2 separate regions of the Homo sapiens genome follow, and region 1 is linked to region 2. The links are contacts of gene promoters, found by promoter capture Hi-C in blood cells and fetal thymus (Javierre and others, 2016). All regions are on one chromosome and are shown on one strand. The core of a region is centred on a gene start or on the middle of the fragment in contact, and the rest is flanking DNA. Distances in the headings are between cores, read along the strand shown. Region 1 overlaps NSUN3 (NOP2/Sun RNA methyltransferase 3). Region 2 holds the start of STX19 (syntaxin 19).

What was found. The method cuts DNA at HindIII sites, captures the fragments that hold promoters and counts their contacts. A CHiCAGO score of 5 or more calls a contact.
Region 1: a contact is called between a fragment that was not itself captured here and the fragment with the promoter of STX19 in region 2, in 1 of 17 cell types (activated CD4 T cells). The highest score is 5.1, in activated CD4 T cells.

The regions. Positions count from the first base shown.
Region 1 is chr3:94,119,113-94,123,243 of GRCh38, forward strand. All of the region lies in intron 5 of NSUN3 (NOP2/Sun RNA methyltransferase 3), which reads left to right. Among named protein-coding and RNA genes, the nearest start is that of NSUN3, 58 kb to the left of the region's middle. The HindIII fragment of the contact is 8,206 bases long and covers 1-4,131 here.
Region 2 is chr3:94,027,007-94,030,863 of GRCh38, forward strand. STX19 (syntaxin 19) reads right to left here and starts at 1,591. Exons shown (of 2, transcript NM_001001850.3): 1 at 1,361-1,591. All of the region lies in intron 3 of ARL13B (ARF like GTPase 13B), which reads left to right. The HindIII fragment of the contact is 4,986 bases long and covers 1-1,865 here.

The sequences.
Region 1 (4,131 bases), core at 333-2,832, 92 kb after region 2:
ATGATTTATCCCAGACATTATTGTAATGGACAGGGCCCTGTATATTTAGGTACTTAGATTTTAGTAGTGTGCTAATTTTTGCTTAGTATATTGTAAAATACATCTTTTAATTTTGATTGGAAAACAAAGACCAGAAATACTGGTTTTTAAATCATTGAACTTGTCTGATTATAGAGTTGTTGTATGTTCTTGCCTTAACAGAAACTATAGTGTGTAATGATAAATTGTAATTATAGAGATAGTTTTATACTTTCTGCAAAAGCAGTGGGAGGCCACAACATGGTCTGGTTCAGTTCGTAAGAAAAATGGCATTTATGGCTCTGGGGGAGGGGGACAGGGAGATGGTTTCAGGATTAAACTGTTCCACCTCAGATCATCAGGCATTAGTTAGATTCCGGAGCTCAGGTGGTAATGCCTGCTCACCCACCACTCAACTCCTGCTGTGCAGCTGGGTTCCTAATAGGTCACAGACTGGTACTGGTCTGTAGGCCCAGGGATTGGGGTCCTCTGATCTATAGCATAAGATAATTCTCAGAGTAGAAAAATCTTAGCTATAAACCCTAGGAGTGAGTTTTTACAAATTGCCTGCCTTCCTTTATCTTTGAATACAAATTTCTGATAGTTTTAAAATACATAACTACTGAAAGCAAAAGGATTAAAATGATATTTAAACAACATGCAGCAGTAGCAAAACAGCAAGACCATTTGACAGGAATCCCTAACATTTGCCTTATGGTTTTGAGATTAACCCAATTTGTTTTAAAAAGGCTTTGTGTTACCACATACAATTTTCTCATTTAGAAATTAATGTGGGCAGTTAAGTTATACCTGCCTAATTTTAGAAAGATAAATTATGAATGTCGAAATGAAAGGTAAGCAGAAGAATCAGCCAACATTGGCAACATTATAGAAATTAATTTAAATTTGCATTAAGCCAGGAACATATTGTTTGTAAATTATGAGGCTTCTATGTACTTTTGTACAGCTTTAATGAAAAAGAATCATACTTACTTGATTAAGCATTGGCTTTGCTAATTGTGGAACTAAGACCAAAATAGTCATTTTCATGGGAGGTTGGAAGTATCTGAATTCAAATATTGCCTATATCCACAATAATCTAACATTTTTATTGTGTATTTCTCTATTTTTAATTGTTTAAAAATACATAACATAAAATTTGCTATCTTAACCATTTTTAAGTGTACAGTTCAATAGTGTTAAGTACATTCACATTGTTGTACTACCAATCTCCAGAACTCTTTTCATCTTTCAAAACTGAAAGTCGATATCCATTAAGCACTAACTCTTCATTCCCTTCACTTCTTAGCCCCTGGCAACCACCATTCTACTTTCTGTCTCTATGAATTTGACTATTCTAGATGCCTCATATAAGTGGAATCATGTGATATTTCTTTTTTGTGACTGGCTTATTTCACTTAGCATAATGTTCTCAGGGTTAATCCATGTTATAGCATCTGTCAGAGTTTTCTTCCTTCTTGATGCTGAATAATATTTCATCATATCTATGTATCTGTCTACACATTTTGCTTGGCAGTTCATCCACTGATGGACACTTGGGTTGCTTCTATCTTTTGGCCATTGTGAATAATGCTACTATGAACATGGGTACAAATATCTCTTTAAGACCCTGCTTTCAATTGTTTGGGGAATATGACCAGAAGTGGAATTGCTGGAGCACATAATAACTTGATTTTTAAGTTTCTGAGGAGCCGTCATATTGTTTTCCATAGTGGCTATACCATTTTAATAATCTAACATTTTTAAAGAAAGTCTTATACCTATTGCTATAGTTAGTAGAAAATGATCCAAAATGAATGTAGTTACAACTTTACTTAGCAAATTGGCCTTTACCTTAGTGTGTTGCTGTAAAAACAAAAAAAGAGAAAACAAAAAACGCCATCATTAGATGTGTATTAGTTGTTTCCTATTGCTGCTGTTAACAATTTGCCACAAATTTAGTGGCTTTAAATAGCACAGATTTGTTACCTTTGCGCTTCTGGAGGTCAGAAGTCCAAAATGAGCCCTGTGGGACTAATATCAAGATGCTGGCAGAGATGTGTTCCTCCTGGAGGTGCTAAGGGAAAATCTGTTTGCTTACCTTTTCCAGCCTTCAGAAGCAGCTCACATACCTGAGCTCTTTGCCCTAGGCCAGCAATCCTGTCAGTTCAACCCAGGCTTCCATCATCACATCTTCACCAACTCTCTGCCTCCCTCTTTCAATGATAAAGGACCTTTGTGATTACATCAGGCCCACTCGGATAATCCAGGATAATCTCCCCATTGCAGGATCCTTAATTTAGTCACATCTGCACATAGCCTTTTCCCATGTAAAATGGCTTGCTTACAGGTTCTGGGGATTAGGATGTGGACATCTTTGAGGGGTTTTCATTCTTCCTACCGCAGGATATTTATTATCCCTTTAGCAGTTCACATCTCCAGCATCTAGATAGGAGCCTTTTTTGTTTCCATGGGGAATATTTAGAGGGCAGTGAATAGTGAGGAGAGGAAACATAGAAAAAGTTTTTTTAGAGACTAACAACAAACACCGAAGTATGAGAAGACCCTCAGTGGTAGGAACCCCCAAAATATCTCTTTAATCAATAAATGAATACATGAGATGTATAGAAATCCTGGATACCATAAAATTTTAGTTATCTGGAACCTCAGGGAATACCTTTTCTAGAGAGGTTATCCCTTAACAGTCAAAATTTTTAAAAATACATATAACTGGCCAGGCGTGGTGGCTCATGCCTGTAGTCCCAGCACTTTGGGAGGCCAAGGCGGGCGGATCACCTGAGGTCAGGAGTTTGAGACCAGCCTGGCCAACATGGTGAAACCCCGTCTCTACTAAAAGTACAAAAATTAGCCAGGCGTGGTGGCAGGTGCCTGTAATCCCAGCTACTCAGGAGGCTGAGGCAGGAGAATTGCTTGAACTGGAGAGGTGGAGGTTGCAGTGAGCCAGGATTGCACCACTGCACTCCAGTCTTGGCAACAAGAGCAAGACTCATCCCCCCACCTAAAAAAAAAAAAAAAAAAAACAATTTAAGTGACCTCCATGGCAAAAGCTCTGATATTTATTCTTTTGTCAAATCTCCCCTTTAATTTGTATTACAGAAATAAATCAGATGGGTAAAAAATTAAACTACAAATGAGCTCCTAGTGAAAAGGATTGCTCCCCTGCAACTCTTCCTCTCTTCCTCCAGTCTTAGTCCTCAGAGGCAATTGCTTCTAATGATTTTGGTTCCTAATTCATTCTTCAGGTCACCCCCAAATCTCTAAATAATACGTTTATTCATTTTCTAAAATTGTCAAAAAATTAGACATTAACTACTGCCCTATCCCAAGGATTTATGTCACTTACACCACCCTTCCCTCATCACACTACCCTGCACCCTGCAATCTCACACTGTACTCAGTTTCTCTCTGTCGGCTCTGAAACTTAGTACCATACACTTAGACCTACATTTCTTATTCTATTAGTGGGGGAAAGTTCTCTTAAATACACATCACACCTTTTTTGTCTTTTTTTCTTCATTTATCTTTATTCTTTTAAAAAAATAATTAGAGGCAAATGTCTTTTGCCTTTTATTTTTATAAAATAAGAACACTTACACGCCCACCCTGCCTTCCATTTCTCTCTCCCTTCTACTTCCCAGTATCTTACAGCTGTACTTTCATGTTGTCAAGGTTGATCATATTCTTTCTGAGACCTTAAAATCTGTTCTGTAACAATAGTAAGTTTGGTCTTTGGAGTAATTCTGAACATTGAAGACCCATAAGTGGTGTATATTGTTTAATTCTATAAATATTGTCCACTGCATAATGGAATAATATGTTAGAATTAAAATTCCTTGTCTCTTGGTTCAATCTCATGAGCAGAATACCACTGAAACATTTTTTCTAGAATCAGATAGATGAGACAAGTTGATCTCTCCCTTTCCCTCCCAATTATGTATACCAAATCTTCAAGTTTTTCTCAGTTTTCAGTCATTTCATCTCTTTTACTTCTCTCCCTTCTCCCTTCCTTCTGGAGAGCTCCCTCTTTTTCCAGACTGCAGTAGTTGCCTTCCAGGCCTCCCACGCAGCTCTCACTCTGAGGCTTCACTCCTT
Region 2 (3,857 bases), core at 341-2,840:
GTAAAAATTACCTTGTACTTTTAGAAATATGCCCTGGGATAGATACTTAGTGTATTTATAGATTTTTTTAAAGTAGGCCATTTCTTTTCATAGTTACTGTAATGATTAAATAAAACATTTCAAGAAATATGACCAGTTTTTACCCAAGAGAAAACAGAATATTCTGTTGCTTTTGTATATGAAGTCAACTTGCCACATTTTTCTAGTGCAAGTGAAAGCAGAGGATCTTATTGTAATATATTAACCTCTTTGGCTACTAAAGTGAGGGCCAAATAGTAGTTTCTAAAAACTAAAAAAAAATTGCAAATTGCATATATTGTCTAATTTTGAAGTATCTGACTTTTTTTGCAATGTAAACTTTCAATGCTTTTTTCTACATTTTATTTAGTCTAAATAACTTATTGAATTAACTTGTATAACAACATTAAGATCATTTTTGTTTAAATATGATGTATAATTTTTGAACTTTTATCTGATTCAAGTAAGCTGTACATACATAAAATGATTTTTATATTACATTTAAAACTGCATAGCTGTGAAGATAATGTGTTCGAGGTATTACGTGGCCAATTCTCAAGTCCACCTTTAAAATACATATAAAAGTCATTATTATTTTGATTTGAAATGGAATATTTATTAAATTCTAACATAGTAACAATTATAACTTTGAAAGTATCTAACCTATCTACATATGTTGTATTTAAATGATGCTGATTTAAATTTTTCAAACTATCAATTAAATGCTAACACTTACGTTAAATGGTATAACAAGTATTTTTAATGTACTAGTTGAAATATTATAAAGGTTAGTGAGTACTTCGATATTTTCTGGTAGCCCTTTCACAAGATTATTTTCTCATTTTTTCAATTTTAGAAGATTCTAGTAAACAACAATGAAGCAATTAAGACCATTATAGCAAATTATTTCAGATTTTTAAGGTTATACGTATGTGTCAAATTTGGGTATAAGCTGCTTTTCAGAGTGAAATATAAAAATGTTCTCTAAAGTAAGCACATTCATAGTCTGTCTATAAAAGAAATAATTTTAGATCTGTTTTTACATCTGACTTTCTAGTATTTTTTAAATGAGAGCTTACTTTTTAAAAGACTTAAAAATTTTTTCTTTCCTCTAAAGTTGATTTTTATTATCGTAGTCTATTTTCAAGAGCTTTATACCCAGATCCCAGTCAGCATGTCAGTAATATATGTGAACAAATCAGCTACTGGTACCCCGGTCCAAATCTGAGCAAAACAAGTAACCCTCATTATTTGTTGAGTGATTTTTAAATGTAACAGTGTAACCAGATGTCAGTCTATGGATACCTCATATTAAAAAGTACAGAAAAGAGTCATTATTTACCTTTCTGTTTTCTTCCTTTTGTTGGTTTTCCACCTGCGGTGTTGGAGTCCTGCCTTTGAGAGAATATCTGAATATCATCTCATGTTTTGAACAAATTATCTAAATCTCTGTCTTATAGGGCACAGACTAATTTCTGTATAGTTTTCATGTTGTTAATTTGAAAGCCAAATAATGAAGTCAAATAAGAGATAAAGTTGTACGTTTGCTGTTAATAGCAAGTGAAAATAGATTGCTTACTTCACACCTGGAGAATCTGGTTCTGCCTGTTAGACGCCTATTCTTTAGATTAAAGGAAGATCATTTTCATTGGAGCTAGTCGGTAACAGGAAGTCCTCGTTAAACTGCCTACGTAGAGTATTTGGCACTGGATCTGCAAATTTAGTCCTACATTGTATATGTAATATATTATTCCAAGAAAATGGGTTTGTATTTAAACAAAGGTTACTTTCTTTTCTATAGATATCAAAACTTACTAAAAATATGGAATTAAATAGGAATGAAAAGAAGCTTGGTGTAAAAGCTTTTTTTGTTCCATTTACTTTAAAATGGTTGAAATCTGTCCTATTTTAGGAAATCCCAAAAGAGCTTAGCTCACAAAATCATAGAATTTCAGAAGGAGAACATCCAGGAAAGAGCTCATGTCTGTAAACCATTCATCCCACGTTACTTTTAATTTTTTTTACTTTTTATTATGCCTGCTGTTTTTATTTTAAAATAAATTTTATATAGAACTAAAGTTATCCAGCAATATATGTTAAATCATTTATTTTGTCAATATAACAACTCAAAATTAATTTATACCAGAGGGAAATGTTTATAGGAAGAATTAAAAATGAAAATTTCTCTTGTACTACCAAATTTCAGACCCATTTTTTCTACCTGACTTGTTACTATTTGAGGGCAAGAAGAAGGAAATTGCTGTATCTATCAAAATCATATATATATATATATATATATATATATATATATTTATTTTTTTTTTATTTTTTTTTTTTTTTGAGAAGGAGTCTTGCTCTTGTAGCCCAGGCTGGAGTGCAGTGGCACGATCTTGGCTCACTGCAACCTCCGTCTCCCGGGTTCAAGCAATTCTGCTGCCTGAGCCCCATAAGTAGCTGGGATTACAGTTGCCTGCCACCACGCCCAGCTAATTTTTTTGTAGAAATGGGGTTTCACCATGTTTGCCAGGCTGGTCTCGAACTCCTGACCTCAGGTGATCCACCTGCCTCAGCCTCCCAAAGTTCTGGGATTACAGATGTGAACCACCATGCCCGGCCAATCACATTTATATTTATTCTTTGTTTTAACAGTTCTACTTCCTGGAATCTGTACTCAAAATAAGAAATGACTCCTTTACACACCTACTTTTTATAGCACTCTTTGTAAAAACAAAACACTGGAAACACAAAAGTCCTTCAGCGTAGAACTGGCTGAATAAATGATGGAACATTCAAAGGGGAGCATTTTGCAATTATAGAAAATAGTGAAGATTTTATTATACTGCTTCAGGGTACTTCAAAATTTACTGTTCAGTTAAAACAAGCATGCTGCAGAAGAATATATATAATATGCTAAGTTTTAGGAAGAAAGGAAGGGTAGATATAAATATTGTATATATACACAAATACATAAACCAGTCAATAGCATTGAATATTCACAGTGCCCAAATTATGGTCCTTGAAATACCATTTTCTCCATACGCTTGTTTATATTTTCAAAAAGAAATAATGGGAGGATGAACTAAACACGAATGAAAATGGTTACCTATAAGGGAAGGGAAGGAAAAGGCAGAGAGATAGCAAATAGTTCCTTTCTGATTGTACCTTGTTTTTATAGTTCTGAATTTAGAACCATATAAATATTTTTTTATTTTTATTTTTTGAGACAGGGTCTCACTCTGTCACCCAGCCTGGAGTGCAGTGGCGCGATCTCGGCTCACTGCAACCTCTGCCTCCTGGGTTCAAGCGATTCTCATGCCTCAGCCTCCCGAGTAGCTGGTATTACAGGTGCACGCCACCACGCCTGGCTCATTTTTTTTTTTTTTTTTTTTTAGTAAAGACAGGGTTTCACCATGTTGGCAAAGCTGGTCTTGAACCCCTGACAAATGATCCACCCACATTGGCCTCCCAGAGTGCTGAGATTACAGGTGTGAGCCACCACGTCCAGCCGATATAAATATTTTAGAAATTAAATCTTAAAACAAATACACAAACGATCTCTAAAATGCAAAAGCACCTAGAAAGAAATGAACCTAGGTATATATCTAGGTGATGGCAAAACCACACAGAGAAGTACTATTTTAAGTAATTTTAAAACAGTATTATTGACTCTGCATCTCTAGTGGGATATAGCGTAGAGACAAAGATACGTAACCACAAAGATATGTTAACCTGCACTTAGTAGTCTTAATATTTAGTAATCATATTGATATTATTATGTTAAAATTCCTATATATAGTTGGATAAAACAAATAATGTCATTAGAAACTGTAGTTTTCAGC